Regions from separate parts of the Homo sapiens genome. Here all the other regions are linked to region 2. The links are contacts of gene promoters, found by promoter capture Hi-C in blood cells and fetal thymus (Javierre and others, 2016). All regions are on one chromosome and are shown on one strand. The core of a region is centred on a gene start or on the middle of the fragment in contact, and the rest is flanking DNA. Distances in the headings are between cores, read along the strand shown. Region 1 has its middle 30 kb from the start of ESD. Region 2 holds the start of MED4 (mediator complex subunit 4). Region 3 has its middle 27 kb from the start of HTR2A-AS1. Region 4 has its middle 12 kb from the start of ESD.

Region 1 (4,418 bases), core at 534-3,033, 1.3 Mb before region 2:
AAAAAAAAAGTCCCTTGCCTCACCCACTTCCCAGCTCCATGCCTCATTTTTAGGGGTATTTGAATTTTTCTAATAAGCCCAATAAGATGAAAATGTTACTTTATTTGGTTGAGTATACTATTATCATCCAACAAAGAAAGTGCTAGAACTCTATTTTCTTTATGTACTATCACCAGAAAGTGAAGCTCATTAAGTGTCGTTAGAGACAGAAGCTGCCACCTGGTGCCAAAGAGACACAAATGAAATCGAAAATTCACTGGTCATGGATTGGAATCCCAGAGTTGGGCCAAATACAACAACAAATAAAAAAATATATATCTGATAAGCAAAAGACATTTTCTCTTGGACTAGCAGGGCTATGAAAGGATGAGAAATTTACAAACTATGTTCTCTCTTCGAGGAAAATATTTTATTTCTATAGCCAACCATTCTTTGTACTGGCAGAGTAGAAACTAATAGCGCAATAGATAATCTGTGTGTTGGTGCTCACAATGTTGTCTCCTCTCACTTAAAAAGTTGTGGTTTAAAAAGTAAGCTTAAAAAGAAATTTGGGAGGCACATTTGCCACACACACCCATACTATATGACTTTTAATTTATAATTGTATACATTAGCATACCAATATGCTATGTATATTATAAGGCATGCACAAAAATAGAAATTTTAACAGGAGATGATGAAATAAAAATAAATATAGACAGAAGCTCTAATCCTGTCCATTGGATGGTCTTGTGCACCCCTGAAGGACGGCACGGGTCACTTTGAAGTTCAATGGCCCTAATGCATCTAGTCACTAACATCTGGATAAGATGACAGAGATTTCATGTGGGTATCTTGTCTTGCTACACAGCCCTGGGAGTTAGTGTAGGGGTTTTTGTTTATTTACTCTGCTTTCCAGTGAGGAATTGGCCTTTGAAAGATGCAATGACTGGCCTGAAGTACCTTTGGGAGGCAGGACCTTACAAGGGTTTCTTCTCCTGAAAGTCTCATTATTCACACAGTCAGCTATGTTAATTCTATTTTTTTTTTTTAATTCCAATGTGTTTTTGAACCAGAACTTAAGTTCTCAGAAATACAAAGTAAGAAGCATGAAAATGTGTTTCTGGACCTTGGCACAGATGAGTGTAAGCACTGTTCTTTCTGATTTTCAACATTTATTAGTGTTTAAAATTAGTATTTTACAACTGAAAATATACATGAATAACTTTTTCTGTAAAAATGATATAATCCACCAAAAATAAAGCTTTTCTGGCTGTTATTTTCAACTCTGGTGCCCTCCTCCTCTTTCCCAGAAGTAACTCATTATTTCCATTCAGAACTTTTCCCATGAAATATATTTGTACCTATAGCAAAATACATATTGTTTTGATGGCTTGTGAAAATGTAAACAGTGTCAAATTTTTCACCAACTTACTTTGATTCTTAAATATTTGGGGTTGTTTTCGTATTTATTACAAACAAGGCTGCAATGCATGCCTTTACACAGGCCTCCTTTTGTATATCTTTCTCCACAAAGCTACTGAAAAATAATTTGGCAGCACCATTTACAGAAAGGCTCATGTTTTCCTCACTGATTTGAGACATTGCTATTAACATACGCTAAATTTCTGTGTGGGTCTGTGGCAGGACTTTTCTGATGGGATGAACTCTTCTGAGTCCAAACCCGTTTTAATTATCACAGCTTTATAATGTCTTGACAACTGGCAGAGCAATTTGTTCTCTCTCAAGCCGTCTTGGCATATTCTTCCATATAAATTTTATAATTAGCTTGTCAAGCTCCATGAACAACTTTGAGATTTTGATTAAGATTATATTGCATTTGTAGATTAATCTGGGGTATGTTTGTAGCTTTACAATATTGAGAGTTTTATTCCATGAATATGATATTGCTTTCCATTTAAGACTTACTTTATTTGCTAGAGGTATTATACAATTCTGGTTTGAGTTCTTTCTAGGTAGTTTTTTGTTGCTGCTGTGAATAGGATCATTTTAAAATAATTTTTATTAAACATAGACTTATAGAAAAATCACTAATTTTGAGACAGTTATATTGTTTCTAGCCACTTTACGAAACTCTTACTGGTTCTAACACTTTGTCCTCCATTTCGACTGTAGTGGATGCCTCTTTTGTCATGGTCCCCTGTGCTGCTGTGGCCATCGCTGCATCTTTACTTCCCCCCACCACCCCCCCGGCAACCTCTGCCAATGTCTTCTTAGCTACTGCTGTTGCCATCCCCATCACTGGAACACCAACAGTGACATTTCCTTTCTTCATCCGAAACCCCAATTCTTCAGATTACTTGGAGGCTAGGCTTCAAAAATGAAAGCTTAAAAAAAAATCTGGCTGTTTTAATTTTAAAGTGGCTTTCATTGCAGAAGGTCGATAAAACAATGTAATCTGTTACATACTGTATATACCCAGTGTGCCTAAATACAAGACAACCTTGAACATGAGAGGATCTGCATTTTTCTTTTTCTTTTTTTTTATTTTTTGAGATGGAGTCTCGCTCTGTCACCTAGGCTGGAGTGCAGTGGCACGATCTTGGCTCACTGCAACCTCTGCCTCCCGGGTTCAAGCGATTCTTCTGCCTCAGCCTCCTGAGTGGTTGGGATAACAGGTGCACGCCATGATGCCAGGCTAATTTTTGTATTTTTAGTAGAGATGGGGTTTCACCACGTTGGCCAGGCTGGTCTCAAACTCCTGACCTTGTGATCCACCTGCCTCAGCCTCCCAAAGTGCTGGGATTACAGGTGTGAGCCACTGCGCCTGGCCTGGATCTGCATTTTTCTAATGATAACATCCAAAACTTTGGCTAATTCGAATACATTTATACATTTTTAAATATATAATTCATGCCTACTTGTCACAGATTTTATATGTATACTTTAAAAATACTTGAGATATGTCAGCTTGGAAATATTAAATATTCTGTTGTAAGATTTTATGACATGGTTTTATCTAAACTCATTTGCATCGTCAATATCAGTAACATCACTACAGCCATTTTTTTCTGGGGGAGGGGGCAGATAGAGTCTCAGTCCGTTGCTGGAGTGCGGTGGTGCAATCTCAGCTCACTGCAACCTCTGCCTCCCAGGTTCCAACGATTCTCCTGCCTCAGTCTCCTGAGTAGCTGGGATTAAAGGCACCTGCCACCACACCTGGCTAATTTTTGCATTTTTAGTAGAGATGGGGTTTTGCCATGTTGGCCAGGCTGGTCTCAAACTCCTGACCTCAAGTGGTCCACCCACCTCGGCCTGCCAAAGTGCTGGGATAACAGATGTGAGCCACCACGCCTGGCCTACAGCCACTTTTTGCAGCAACTTTTCACATCACCTTCACTTCTAAGTGGTTTGAGATACAATATTACTTGAATTGATAAACGATGTAGCCACTGGAAATTGTATCCCCCAAGATAAGTATTCTTTGCAATAACATCAGGATTTTTAAATTCTTCATGCAGTAGTATATTTATGATCTTCACAGCATAACTACTTAATATACTTTTAATGTAAACCTTATTAAAGTATAACACATATTAAAAAGTTTATAAATCCTAAGTGTATGGCCTGATGAATTTTCAGTGAACATGCTCATGTACCAAGCACCTGGATGAAGATAGCATCACCAGTACTCTCTCCTGCCATGCTCCAATCACCTCTCCCTCAGAATGCCCCCCACCACCCCCTTCCATTGCCTTGCTATGTGTAACACCTCCTGTCTTCAATACTATGCATATAAAATGGTACCAAGTTATTATATAGCACATAATTTGGTGTCAGGATTCTTTCTTCCAGATTATGATTGAGACCCCATCCATGTTGCTGCATCCAGTTATAGTGTGTTTATTTTTATTCATGTAGAATATTTCATTGTATGAATATGCTCCAATTTTACTAATTCTGTTATAGATGGATTCAGGTTATTTCTAGATTTTGGCCATTGTAAATGGTGCTGCTGTAAACATTCTCATGTAGCCATAATGTTCCTGTTAAGTACAGAAACATGCATTGAAAGGCTATAGGAGACGTGCTAAGTAAGGTCTGAGGCCTCATCAGACCTTACCAGTTTGCTAAGGTTGAACTAGACCTTAGCAGATCCTGCCAGATTGCACCTTATTAGCAGTATAATTCAGGTCGCCATGTTTCCTTGTCAACACCTGGGATTTTCCATTGTCTGAACTTTAGCCATTCAGGTGGGTGTGTAGGTTCATTGCATTGTAGTTTTTATTCGTATTTCCCCAGTCTTACTAAGCACATTTTCAGGCATTCATTAGCCATATTTGTCCTATTTTGTTAAGTACAAATTTTTTGCCAAATTTTATGTTTTTAAGAATTTGTGAGAGTTCTTCAGGCATTCTAGATACAAGTTATTTGTCAGATATATGTGTTGCAAGCATCTCCATCTACTTTGTGGCTTG
Region 2 (4,558 bases), core at 1,898-4,397:
TCAGTGCCCCAAAGATGGAGCTGAGGAGGTGTAGCCAGGGCCTGGCACAATGGGGAGAGGAAAGCAAAGTGAGGATGTAGCAGCCAGGTGGCTAGGGGTGAGATTACGTAGGGCCTTATAGTTATGGTAAAGATTAGTGTTTCATTCTTTTTTTATTTTTTATTTTTTGAGATGGAGTTTTGCTCTTGTTGCCCAGGCTGGAGTGCAATGGCGCGATCTCGGCTCACCCCAACCTCCACCTCCCGGGTTCAAAGAATTCTCCTGCCTCAGCCTCCCTAGCAGCTGGGATTACAGGCATGTGCCACCACGCCCGGCTAATTTTGTATTTTTTTTTTAGTACAGATGGGGTTTCTCCCTGTTGGTCAGGCTGGTCTCGAAATCCCGACCACAGGTGATCCGCCGGCCTCGGCCTCCCAAAGTGCTGGGATTACAGGCATGAGCCACTGCGCCCGGCCTAGTGTTTCATTCTAAATGCAATGAGAAGCCACTGGGTTATTTTAAACAGGGAAATGGCATGACCTGATTTATACTTTTAAAAACTGTTGAGTGATCTGGTAAATAGACTGTAAGAGGGCCAGAACAGGAAGTAAGTTAGGTGGTTTCTGTAGTGTTCCAGGCAAAAAATGACACTGGTTTTGACGAGGTTATAGCCTCCAGGACTTAGTAATCGTGATGGGAGAAACATGGACAGATTTCAGATATCTTTTGGAGGTAGAGCTAACAGGACTTGCTGATGGATCAACAGCGTATGAAAACAGCATGTTAAGTAAACTTTTTAGTGTACGCCACAAGTGAGACATAGACGGTTGAGAACCTCTGGTCTAAGTAAAAGCTGGTTTCAGGTGGGGCAGGAGTGGTGCTGACTAGAGTGGGGCTATGGTAGGAGATGTGGGATAAGCCTTCCTCTGTTCTTGCAAATCTGGGAGCGTGAGTCCACAGAAGGCTTTACAAGGCTTGCCTTAGGCGCCGGAGTAGAGGGGAGGTAGAAGTCTCTAAGACTTAGTCATGTTCTGTAACAGTCCAGGACAAAATAGAAACCCCTGTCCTCCCCAACTGCGAAAAAGAGGCCAAAGGAAGCCCCCACACTCAAGAGCCCTGTCCTGCTAAAAAGAAGGTGCATTCCCAGCATACTGCATTAGAATCCAGACACAATTCCCCATAGAAATAAAATTTCCATAGCGGTTAGAGCCTACATTATTAGCAGTAATACACTTTTCAGGTAAACAGAATTAACAGGCTGGTGTGGAAAACTCAAGATTCCTATCAACATGGTTCTGTGGAACAATGAGTTTTGAGTTACAAATGGGTTAAAAAAAACGTTTAGCCTACAACCTGTGTTTCAACTTTTTAAGACTATCTCCTTGCATTACATTTTATAAACTAATAAATATCCCGAAAGGCTATATAATCAGGTTAATAGAAAAAAAAAGATCCTAAGTTATAAATCCACTATTTTTAAAGAGGCTAAATCTAAAAATATGTAAGGTATATTCGTGATTTTTCTTCTCATTTTCATAAATGCAAGCCAGACACAAATTACATTCAGAGACTGACAAACTTCACAGATCACAGAATCAGTACACATAACTACCTCTGAGTGAACACATGAGACCTTTCTGGAAGCCAGTCACACCACCAGAGCAGCTTCATTCTGTGAAGAAGTTCCAATGATCCGCCCGCCTTGGCCTCCCAAAGTGCTCGGATTATAGGCGTGAGCCACCACACCCGGCCCTAATACAGTTTATTTTAAACAGTGGATCAAACACATAAGCCATTTAATTTCTGCTGTCTAGGTGTTTTCGGGTTTTCTTCCATCATTAAATATTGTGCTGACCTGGTAACTTGGTAGCAATACGATGGCAAGGACTAAATTTACACCAAAAATAAAGTGCTGATTATATCACGTATATTTTAAAATACAACAGGTAAGATTTATTCTAAAGCTGTCAAAGAATGTTGGCTATAGAAAAAGTGACATTTGAGCTGGATTCTGAAGGATATATGAATCATTCACCAAATCGGGAGTAGACTGGGAATGGCACTGAAGATGTGGAAGTCTGACTAAAGAATTTGAACTTTACCTCACTGGACAACGCAAACCTACCAATGAGGTAGCTTTTATATAATTTTTCTGCAGAAAAGTGATATAAGATGCCTTTTAAAACTGGTATCGGCCAATATAAAAGGATAAAGTGCAGAAGCATGAGGCAATTAAAACTGTTTGGGAGGCTACATTTAAGAAGGAGTTATGAACAGCGGGGTTGGAACGAGAGGGCAAATTGGAGCGACACTTTAGGAGGTAGAACCAAGATAATTTACCATCCAAGTCAATGGGAGGGAGTCAAGGAAGGCTTCAACTTGAAAGACTTATCATGAAAGGTGACAGAATATGAAGAACGACATCTAATTTCATCTCCTATCTCTGACACACAACCATCCTAAACAACTTGCAACTCCACCAAGCCAGGCTTTTTGCACTTGCTGTTCCATCTATCTGTGCTGCCTAGTGAGTTTGGCGAGCTCATGCTTCCCAAGCAGCACTTTCTTCAGAGGGCCTGCCCTGACTACAACCAAAAAAGGTGCCTAGTCCCTGTGCTCCAGTACCCCGCAGCGCAGCCCTCTAATAAAAACAGGCCCCAAGCCAGTTTACACATCTGTCTCTCTCTCGACAGCTGGCATCCAGTCTACCCTTCACTACCGTCTCCCCAATGCTGAGCCCCCAAGGAGCGTTCCATAAATGTTAAGTGGCTGGCCGCGGACGAAGAGGCTCAGACCGCGCGAGTTCTTATCATTACTAAAATTCCCTCTAACGGGAAAAACCGCCGCCCAGAGTGCCAGAGGGCTGCGGACCCCACGTCCATGACCCTCATGCACCCGAAACTCCCGAGCTGGCCCTCCCCGCCGAACCCCGAGAACGAGCACAAACGCAGGGCCGGCCGGCTCCGGGGTCAGTCCCCCGGCCCAGCTCCAGCCCGGCTCTCAGGCTCGCCGCATTACCTAGACAGGACCTCCAAGTCCTCAAGCGCAGACAGCAGCCGCTCTCGTGTGCTGTTACCACCCGCCACTCCCAAACCGCCTCCCAGCCGCTCCTTCTCCTTCTCACCACTCGAAGACGCAGCCATTTTCCCCAGAGTCCCGCCACCGGCGCACGCGCAGAGCGAGCTGACGCAGGTGCGTGGCGAGAAGGCGGGCTCGGAAGGCGGAAGAGTCACCCAGGAGAGGAAAAAGAGGCCTGGCGAGAGCGCCCCCTTTGGGCCTGGAGGCGCACTGCGGACACCGGCGCCATCTGTTGGGCCGGCGAGGGCTTTCTGGTCCAAACCCTGGGAGCGACAGCTGAACTGAGAACAGTGGGGGCAACGCAGTCTGATTCTCCTGGGCCTAATGGTTTTTTTTCTTTCTTTCTTTCTTTTTTTTTTTTTGAGACGAGTCTCGCTCTGTTGCCCAGACTGGAGTGCATCGCCGCGGATGTCTTGGCTCACTGCAAGTTCCGCCTCCTGGGTTCACGCCATTTTTCCTGCCTCAGCCTCCCGAGTAGCTGGGACTACAGGCGACCGCCACCACGCCCGGCTAATTTTTTGTATTTTTAGTAGAGACGGGGTTTCACCTTGTTAGCCAGGATGGTCTCAATCTCCTGACCTCGTGATCCGCCTGCCTCAGCCTCCCAAAGTGGTGGAATTACAGGCGTGAGCCACCGCACCCGGCCCACCTTAACCATTTTTAAGTGGATAGTTCAGTGGCATTAAATACATTCATACTGTTGAGCAACTATCCATCTCCAAAACCTTTTATCTTGTAAAACAAACTCTGTACTCACTAAATGCTAACTCCTTATCCCTCCCTTCTCCAGGCCCTGGCAACCACCATTCTACTTTCCATTGCTGTAAGTTTGGCTACTCTAGGTACCTCATATAAGCAGAATCATACAGTATTTGTCTTTTTGTGTCTGGCTTATGTCACTCAGCATTATGTCCTCCAGGTTCATCCATGATGTAGCATGTGCTGGAATATCTTTCCTTTTTAAGACTAATATTCCATTGTATGCATATGGCACCTTTTGTTCATCCATTCATCTGACGATGGACAGTTAGGTTACTTCCACATTGCTATAATCCATCTTTATAGCCATACATCTTCCAACAAAATGTTTTGCTCATTACTCAGGTTAATTATTGAACTGAAGGAACCAATACAGTACATAAGTAGTAGTTAATTAACATAGTTTAAGTCATTGATGTACCACACATTCCAAACCAGAACTGGTTGTCAAAGGCAAAAATACGTCTTAGCCTACTTTTCCTAGGGATAACAATGTAGTAGGGATCACTCTCTACCAGAAAAAAGCAAAGTTACAAGCCTATTGGGAATGAGGATTCCATATTGCTATTATAAAAGATGGTCTGGGACTGCCTCACTCCCATGAGGTAGTAGTACCTGTAGTCCTTTCATTTCAGGGTCTCATCCTCTACTCTGTCTTTTTGGAGGTGCTAAACCTGACTCCTGGGCACCCAGAGTTGACAAGTCTTTTAGAAATTCATGTTAAATAAATTCACTCATAGCA
Region 3 (4,790 bases), core at 2,265-4,764, 1.3 Mb before region 2:
GGTTGTAGTCCAGAAGCCTTGAGGTGCTCATGTGGTAGGAGGCTGGGAGGCTCACTGCTTCTGTGTCAGGCTCAGGCCTGGAGCTCTTTTGCCAGGGTGTCCCATTTTCTGTTCTCTGCCGTTCACTGACAGCCTGGTAGAGGCCTTGCAAACCTTCAGGGTCCCAGAATGGGGAGAGTGCAGTGCTTTCTCACTTGTCAAAGTTCCTTCCTTGTACTTTTCCTAGTTTCAGGATGACCTTGGGGTGCGGCAATCACCCCCAACTTCTGTTAAAGCAATAGCCTCCATATCCTTCTGATATGACACAACCCCAGAAGGACTGAAAGACCTGTTTACCTGGCCCCTTGTGGGAAGGAGCCCATAGACCTTTAGAAACAGGTCCAGGCAGCAAAAGGGGAGACCTCCCCTTTTACACCCATGCTTGCCAAAGGGCCCAAAACAGTGATTGATTTTTTTTTAAGTTAAACTTGCTTCTTTATTGCAGGAATTCCCAGAAGTTTTATCTTAAAATATATTGTGAATCTTCTAGAAAGTTACAAAATACATTTCCTATTTTTTCTAGTTTTATTGAGATATAATTGACAAATAAAAATTTTATGTATTCAAGACGTACGATGAGATGATTTGCTATACATATATATTGTGTAATGATTACCACAGTCGAATTAGTTAACCCACTAGTCACCACACATAGTTACTGTGTATGTGTGTGTCGGGGGTGGTGAGGACACTTAAGATCTACTCTCTAAGCAGTAGTGACATCTGCATAGAGAGTAGATATAAGTGAGATCATACAGCGTTTGTCTTTGTGGATTGTGTTTTCCTTTGATAATCCACCTTATTATAAGAACACCAAGGCAGAAACGAGATGGGGATAGATTCATTTGAGAACCTTGCCAGACCTCACGTTGTAGTTTTGCTTCAGGCATGTTAGCTCTAGAGGTCTCTTTGTCCTCATTTTGGCCCTGCTTTCTGTTGGTTATAGTCAGGAAGGCCCCACTGAGAGGCAGTTACTTCTTTTTCCTCTAGCTAGTCATGTTAATAACCATCACATATTAAGTTCTATTATAGGTCAGACCATTCGAGAAGCTCTTCATAAACTACTTCTAATTCTTACAACTCCACAAGACATTATTATCTCCATTTAGCAGATGTACCTCATAGAGTTTAAGTAATTTTCTTACATAGCCAGTACATTAAATAGAGAATTTGAAGTAATGTCTATGTAACTCCTAAGGCCATGCTCTTTCAAATATTCTTCTAAATCTTTTAGAATTAGATTGAAAATACAACCTCACATAATGTCCTTTCTGTGAACTTTGTCTTTGTAACATTCTCTAAAAGTAAAGTACCCAAGCTCTATTGCGTAGATTTTTTCTTATTGTTGCAAACCTAAGGGATATGAAATAACTAATTCTCATTGTACTACAAGGGAAAATATTTTATTCCTTTATTTTTATTAATGTCCAATTCCCTCATTTATTCTTAGAGTTTTGGTTTGTAGAGAATTAAATCCATGGTCTTCTCGGGCATAATCTGGCCACCCTCCAGGGGGCTGCAGGTACAGGAGTCATCCTATGTTTTTCTTCTCATGGTTATGAATTATAACATTGGTGGATCCGAGAGTTGTAGGACTCTGTTGCCCCAGTGATACAAATGTTTCAGCTACTAAATGATTTTCTCCTCCACTGGGGCTTGGCAGATTTTTCTAAATTGTTAAATTTTCATTAGATTATAATGTGGCTGTTTTAATCATGGTGCACTGTGATTGCTTGTTGAGGTCATCAAATCACAATTCCCAGGGCAAGCCCTGGAAAAGCATCATTGAGATTGGTTCACCTCCCATCCATTGTTTTCCCAGGGTTTCAGATTCAAGCTTCTACATGTGTGTGTGTATGTGTGTGTGTGTGTGTGTGTGTGTTTTGCAACAACTATTTTGCCGATAACCCTATAAAAGAAAATTGGCTGACTCACTTCTGGTTATATTCTTTAAAGTGTCAACCTGTGGATAGGAAATTGGAAATAACTGTATTAGAAGGAAAAAATGTAAAGTAGGAAAAGGGAGTGCTGGTTAAAAGAGGTGGCTACCCTTGCCAGAAGAGTAAGTCAATAGATTTTCTCTCTTTTCAGATAAGGTATGATTAGCATTCAGACCCAGTGATGGATACACTCTAGCCCTCTGTGTGAAAACTCTTCTTCTGTCAAGAGATTCAGCTGGGGGAATATTCTGCATAGCCCACCACAGCTGATTGGATTGGGAAAGGCATCTGGCCATATCTGGTCAGTAGACTATAAGGGGAGCTTAGAACAAAGTCTCTGCCCATGTAGGGAGAACATGGACCAACCTAACCAGCTCTCTCTTAGAAATCTACACAAGTCAGTATAGAGAAGTTCATATAATTAGTGGCAGCTGTAGAAGATGAAAGTCCATGAGGTAGAGAGGTCATGGTGGACTGTAAGTGAGCACATGCTATATGTAAGAAGAAACCAAATGGAAACCAGCTGGTAGAGGGAAGATGAGTGAAAGAGACCCAGAGTGAAACAGGTTGAGAGAGAGTAGCTGGGTCCTATGGATGATTCAGGCCTTTGATGAAAATGGAGGAACTTGTGCCTGCATCCCTCCGGTAGCCTTTGATTTGGTCTGGGGTGGGTTATGTGTCTCTGAGCTTCTGTGAGGCCTATTTGACATCGATTCAAAACAATGATTCCTGTTTTCTCATTTCTGTGTGTATTCTGACAATAAGATCCATGTTCTCCGAAGAAACTTGGAGATTTTTCAATCTCCCTGATTTGTATTAATATCTATAACATTTATTTTAAATAGTAATTTTTCCAGTCAATATTTATTATTTTATTGATTAGCATAGGAAGTAGAAAGGGCATGTAAGAAATTTATTTTTGAACATACTTCTACAAATATAAAGGACATAGAGTTTATGCATTCTTCCTTACATTTAGGAGGAAGTTAATGTTACATACATTCTCTGTGCATGAAGGTGAGCTAAGAGAAAAGACAGCAATCAATATGTTATGATTCTATCTTACCAAATCAAGAATTTCCTTTAGAGAATTAACCATGTTGCTGATCACCACTTATCAACACTTATACTTATGGGTTGAAATTGTGTTTATTCAGCAAAGTCTAATTTACCCTGCATTGTAAGTTGAAGGCTTTAGAAGGAACTATTTCCTTCCCAAAGCTAGAGCTCTGCTAAGCTTCACTCTTCATTCTAACTAAGGCAAGACAGTCACAGGTATAATGCAAGCATGATAGAGATATGCTTTCATTCTTTTGGGTTAGGGAGGAAATAGAGCAAGTGGCTGAGAATAGAGATGTTGATTCAAAACCCAGCTCTATTACTTACTATGTGTGAGCTTGGATAGGTTAATCTCTAGTTTCCTTATATAGAACATGGAGATGATGATAATATCCACTGTATAGTGCTGGTATTGTAAGGATATATTAAAATATCTAACATAATACTTGACATTTACTAAGGGCTCAAATAAATAGATGTGATGGTAGTAGTAGTGTAGTAGTATATGTTGTTGTGGTTGTTGTGTTTGTGGTAATTATTGTTGCTGTTGTTGGATGGTAGTGTCCAGGGATTAGCTAACTATATAGTCCAGGCTCAAATCTGACCCAGAGTTTGTTTTTGTAAATAAAGTTTTATTGGAACATAGTCACATTCACTCATTTGCTTATTGTCTATGGCTGTTTTCACACCACAACAGAACCTAAAACATGTACTATTTGGCTCCTTATAGAAAATATTTTCTGATCTTTAGCACAGTGGAAATTAGAAACAGTAAAAGCTTATCATTTATATAGTCATGCTTGAGTTCCGATTCTTCTCCTTAGCTTGGTGGAATTGGTCAAATTTACCTTTGAGACTCAGTTTCCTCTATGGTTACTATGAGACATAGACACATTATTGTGATTAAATGTGTGAAATTAGCACAAAATTGTTGCTCAATAAGTATCAACTTCAGTGTCTTCCTTTGACATTCCTTCTGGTTTCCTTGTTGTAGTAAGAGAAATAGGTTGGATGTTTCTGGATTTAATCTCGCTGTTTCAAAAAATGTGAAAACATTGCTGGTTTATGCTTTATATATACATTATTGCCTACTACAAGTGGCTAGCTGTACTTTGCTCAAATTCTTAGAACCAAGTAGGACCACTCAAAGCTATTAGCAAAAGAAGCTGGTATTTAAGTCAAATAAAAAATATGCTCATTTAAGGCAGAAATAGTTATTTTGTCTTTCAAAGTTATTAAAGCAAATTTCTCAAAGCAGAATGTTATATAAATGTACTAATAGTTTCAATATTTTATTTATTATGCTTCATATAGATTGAAGTAAGTTGATATTTGCATCATGACAGTGATAATAATTCTAAGTTAGAGAAGATTTTTTTTCTTTATGAGTGGTTCCAATAGGTTTTCAGACTTAGGTCTATCTGGTGGAGAGGAGCTGGACAAAAAGTGTGTCATAGCTTCCACATTCTATTTTAGAGAAGTGTAGGAATAATTAATCATAGTCAAGTTCTCTGGTGATTATATTAGAGGAATAAATGTAGTGTTACATTTTCATGCAAATCAATCTTCTTGTTCTTCAGTCTTGGAAATGTTTAGTTGTTTTAATTTTGTCATACTTGTAATCACTTGTGAATAACATTTCCTATTTTTCTGCTAATTTGGAAAAAACCCCACCATCTTGTCTCTAGAAATTAAAGACTAATAAATGTATCCCCTTTTCAGAGTATCAGAGAGATACATCATTACATGTGT
Region 4 (5,098 bases), core at 900-3,399, 1.3 Mb before region 2:
ATGGCTTATTTTATAGCACAGCTAACTAGAGAAGAGTTTTTGCACATTTTAACATTTTACATTGATAAAATATGACAGATCTAGCAACTCTAGGTTGACACCTTGAGATAATCTATGCCTCTGATTATTTTTGAAACATTATTGTATTTGAGATCTTATTTTTTTATTTTTGTTTTTATGTGTTAGTTTGGAAATGTGACGTGGGAGGCTGCTCCAATTTCCAAATATCATGGGTAAATAGAATTTACATTTCATAGTTACATATACATTTATTTTGCTACTGATTTAATTTTGTATCCCTTCTACAAATATTTTATGAACTATGTAAAATCAGTTCTGACTTTCACTCACTAAACTCAAAAATACTTTCTCAATAGCTGGGGATAGTGGTGCACTTCTATAGTCCTAGCTACTCTGAAGGCTGACACGGGAGGATGGAGTCTATCTTGGGCAACATAGCAAGACCCGCTTTCTTTTTCTTTTATTTCTTTTTTTTAAATTATATTTTAAGTTCTGCAATACATGGGCAGAACATGCAGGTTTGTTACATAGGTATACAAGTGTCATGGTGGTTTGCTGCACCCATCAACCCGTCATCTACATTAGGTATTTCTCTTAATGCTATCCCTCCCCTAGCCCCCAGCCCCTGACAGGCACCGGTGTGTGATGTTCCCCTCCCTGTGTCCATGTGTTCTCATTGTTCAACTCTCACTTATGAGTGAGAACATGTGGTTTTTGGTTTTCTGTTCCTGTGCTAGTTAGCTGAGAATGATGGTTTCCAGCTTCATCCGTGTCCCTGCAAAGGACATGAACTCATCTCTTTTTATGGCTTCATAGTATTCCATGGTGTATATGTGCCACATTTTCTTTATCCAGTCTATCACTGATGGGCACTGGGGTTGGTTCCAAGTCTTTGCTATTGTGAACAGTGCTGCAATAAACATACGTGTGCATGTGTCTTTATAGTAGAATGATTTATAATCCTTTGGGTATATACCCAGTAATGGGATTGCTGGGTCAAATGGTGTTTCTGGTTCTAGATCCTTGAGGAATCGCCACACTGTCTTCCACAATGGTTGAACTAATTTACACTCCCACCAACAGTGTAAAAGTGTTCCTATTTATCCACATCCTCTCCAGCATTTGTTGTTTCCTGACTTTTTAATGATCTCCATTCTAACTGGAGTGAGATAGTATCTCATTGTGGGTTTGATTCGCATTTCTCTAATGACCAGTGAAGATGAGCTTTTTTTCACATGTTTGTTGGCTGCATAAATGTCTTCTTTTGAGAACTGTCTGCTAGTAAATGGCAGAGCTGGGATTTGCTTCCATCAGTTGAAATCCTGAGTTTGTGTGCTTAACTGCCATTCCATACCGCCAATAATAATAATACTCTTCATCAATAATAATCATGATGAAGATACTGATCCTATACATTATTTTTGTTATCAAAGCATTCTAGACTGAACAAATTAATACTTTCCCCTAGTCACAACTAATGAAAACAACAAGGAATTAATTTTAAAAATATAAAAAATTAGGTGCAAGAATATGGCTTTATTTTATGTCACTGGGCAAAGTAAATTTGTTTGTTATATCTCTGGATCTCTAGTTATACTATTATCCATTAATTTATTCTTTCACCCACAAGTAGTCATTGATTGCTTACCATACGCAAGGTACTTTTCTAGATACTGGAAATACAGAAATAGACAAATCAAAGTCTCTGCTTTCATAGGGCTTACTTTTTCTTTTTTTCTTTTCTTTTGAGACAGGGTCTCACTGTTAACTAGGCTGGAGTGCAGTGGTGCAACCACACCTCACTGCAACCTTGACCTCCTGGGCTCAAGTGATCCTCCCATCTCAGCCTCTTATGTAGCTGGGACTACAGGCATTGCCACCATGCCTGGCTAGTTTTTTTTTTTCTTTTTTCTTTTTTTTGTAGAGATGGGGTCTTGCTGTGTTGGCAGGGCTGGTCTTGAACTCCTGGATTCAAGTGATCCTCCTGCCTTGGCCTCCCAAAGTGCTACGATTACAGGTGTGAACCACAGTCCAAGCTTACTTTTTCTAAAAGCATGGGAAAATACTATTATTTCTCAGTAAAACAAATCTTTTTTATATATATTAACTCAGTTAACATCATCAAATATCTTTGCATAAAGTTAATTTTGTCTTTACAGAGTATAAACTGATTCACAAGGAGATACATGACCTTAGTCAAGGCACTGGTACAGCTAGAAATAAAGCTTAAGTTTAGATTGCTATGAACCCAAGTGATCTGGCTCCAGCTCAAATACTAGATAAGCCTAATTTCTTGGAGCAGAACGAAGCTTGCAAAAAAGCAATATTTGTCCCACAAAATGGAACCTGATTACTGTTTGTGAATGTCAGCTGCTTTTAGCCCACACTAGTTCAGTTGTACTTGAGAAGACACAGCCAAGATGTCTCAATAATTATTAAATTCTGACTTTTTCCAGTCTACCTCCTACTAAAGTAATCCATATAACCTGGAAGTCAGCAATGTTGCAGAAACCCTCTAGAAGCATTATACTGTGAATAAGAGACATGGTTAAACAGCCAGATCTGGCCAGGCACGGTGGCTCACGCCTGTAATCCCAGCACTTTGGGAGGCCGAGGCAGGTGGATCACGAGGTCAGGAGATGGAGACCATCCTGGCTAACACGGTGAAACCCCGCATCTACTAAAAATACAAAAAAATTAGCCGGGCGCGGTGGCGGGCGCCTGTCGTCCCAGCTACTCGGTAGGCTGAGGCAGGAGAATGGCGTGAACCCGGGAGGCGGAGCTTGCGGTGAGCCGAACTCGCGCCACTGCACTCCGGCCTGGGCGACAGAGCGAGACACCGTCTCAAAAAAAAAAAAAAAAAAAAAAGAGCCAGCTCTAACAGTGCTTTCATTGAAATCAATAAGGGGAAGAAAGAACAGAGTTTAAAAGACTGAGTAAAATGACTTAGCAGAGATAGTAACATGAGAAAAAGAGGAGAGATGTTTATAAACCAGAACCTGATTTGGAATGGAAGAAATGGGAAATAGTGCCAAGATTATTTTAAATTTATTGGAAATGGGAAGGGAATAGTAGCAACATTATCATTATATTTGAACTGACTGGTATAGAAAGGACAATTCTTGCAAAACTGCCAATTTTCTGGAGTTTCATAGGCTTGTATATTTGAGGAATACACTTGGGTGAAGTTACAGCTCACAAAACAATTTATATCTGATTTTAAATTTTATCTTGTTATCAAACTTGGCTAGTAAATGGGCTTTCTTTATAAATCTGGTCCCACATTTCTCAGAGTGACATTGAGAAACTCCAATTCCGTAGGATATTATTTAGATTTATGTTTCTGTGATTAAATGTGGGAATGGTAGGTTGAACAAAAGATGTCACCGAGTCCGAGTCTTCAAGGTGCTAGTTTACAGTATGCAACTCCCATTAGGGGGTTATAGTTTCTTTTTTTGTCTTTGGACATTCTGAAAGATTCATGTAGTCTGGAATGTACTCTGAGAAATATCAGTCTAGTTCACTGTTGGTCATGTCTCCATCAGATGACTCATAATAATTTTTTTCTGTTAATAAAGTCTTTAACGGTTCACATTTCCATAACAACTTGTCTCCCTTTAAAGTCCCAATATCGTAGTATCGCCTATTTCTTAGGAAATTCAGAGCTTAGAGCATTTTATATTTAATTGGTTTTTACTCCAGGGAAGTTTTTGTTTGTTTGTTTGTTTTTTTGTGACAGTGTCTTATTCCAGTTGCCTAGGCTGGAGTGCAATGGCATGATCACGGCTCACTGTAGCCTCAATTTTCCAGGCTCAGGTGATTCTCCCACCTCAGCCTACTGAGTAGCTGGGACTACTGGTGTGCACTGCCATGCTTGGCTATTTTTAAATTTTGTATAGAGACAGATGGGTTTTTGCCGTGTTGTCCAGGCTGGTCTTGAACTCCTGGGCTCTTTATCATTATGGAATGTCTTTGTTTGTTAATTGGAATGTTTAATCCATTTACATTTAATTTAACTATTGATGTAATTGGATTTGGGTCTACTTTTTTTCTATTTCTTTTCCATTTGTCCCACCTTTTAAACTTTATTTCTCCTTTCTAGCTTTCATTTGGGTTAATTGATTTTTTTTCATAATTCCACTTGAATTCCTCTATTAGCCTTTTAATTGTACCTGTTTCTGTTTTTAAGTGGGTTCTATAGGGATTATAATGTGCATTCTTAATTTATCACAGTCTACTTTGATTTAATATTATACCACTTTAATGTAAGAACTTTGTAACTGTATATTTCTATTTCCCCACTCCTCATTATTTTATTTCTTGTTATCATGACTCTTAGATCTACAAACATTATAAAACTATAGAAGTGTGCTATAGAAGTAGTATTGTAACTTTTACTTTAAATAGGCAAATATTTTATCATAATAAAATAATTAAGAGAAGAAGTGGCATAACACATCCTTTTAATATTTGCCACTTTCAGTATTCTTCATTTCTTCCAATACACATGAATTTCCTCCTGGTATCATTTCTTTCAGTCTGAAGATCTTGTAGCTTTCTTAGAGTTCAAATCTGCCTATAACAAATTCTCCCAATTTTTGTTTACTGAAAAAATGCCTTCATTTTGTCTTTACTTTTAAAGAATATTTTCATCGGTGGATATAGAATTTTAGGTTGCCATTTTTTTCTCTTTAAAAATGTTTTTCTATTGTCTTCTGGCCACCATCATTTTAGGTGACAATTTAGTTATTTATTTGTAATGTTGTCCCCTGTATACAGTGTGTTTTCCCTTGATCCTCTGGCAGCTTTTCAAGATTTTCTATTTCTTTTTGAGTCTTCAGCCATTTAACTATGATGTGTCTGGGAATGATTTTCTTTTCATTAATTCTACTTGAGCTTCAGTGAATTTGTAAAATATGTAAATTTATGTTTTTCACCAAATCTGGGTGTATTTTGACCATAATATTTTTTCAAATTTTTTTCTGTCCAATTTTGTCTCTCCTCTTCTAGTAGAACTGTAATTATTCCTCCAAATGAATTCCAATGTTAGACGTTTTAACATTATTGCACAGGTCAC

The links. Contacts are between HindIII fragments. The CHiCAGO score rates a contact against its expected background, and 5 or more counts as called.
Region 1: a fragment that was not itself captured here is called in contact with the fragment with the promoter of MED4 in region 2 in 1 of 17 cell types (megakaryocytes); the score reaches 5.7 in megakaryocytes.
Region 3: a contact is called between a fragment that was not itself captured here and the fragment with the promoter of MED4 in region 2, in 1 of 17 cell types (megakaryocytes). The highest score is 5.6, in megakaryocytes.
Region 4: a contact is called between a fragment that was not itself captured here and the fragment with the promoter of MED4 in region 2, in 1 of 17 cell types (megakaryocytes). The highest score is 5.5, in megakaryocytes.

Annotation. Positions count from the first base shown.
Region 1 is chr13:46,764,533-46,768,950 of GRCh38, forward strand. No RefSeq gene overlaps it. Among named protein-coding and RNA genes, the nearest start is that of ESD, 30 kb to the right of the region's middle. The HindIII fragment of the contact is 1,084 bases long and covers 1,242-2,325 here.
Region 2 is chr13:48,091,957-48,096,514 of GRCh38, forward strand. MED4 (mediator complex subunit 4) reads right to left here and starts at 3,148. Exons shown (of 7, transcript NM_014166.4): 1 at 2,998-3,148. The coding sequence starts at 3,122. RefSeq lists a silencer at 2,357-2,651. The HindIII fragment of the contact is 8,460 bases long and covers 1-4,558 here.
Region 3 is chr13:46,823,113-46,827,902 of GRCh38, forward strand. No RefSeq gene overlaps it. Among named protein-coding and RNA genes, the nearest start is that of HTR2A-AS1, 27 kb to the right of the region's middle. The HindIII fragment of the contact is 600 bases long and covers 3,215-3,814 here.
Region 4 is chr13:46,807,085-46,812,182 of GRCh38, forward strand. No RefSeq gene overlaps it. Among named protein-coding and RNA genes, the nearest start is that of ESD, 12 kb to the left of the region's middle. The HindIII fragment of the contact is 189 bases long and covers 2,056-2,244 here.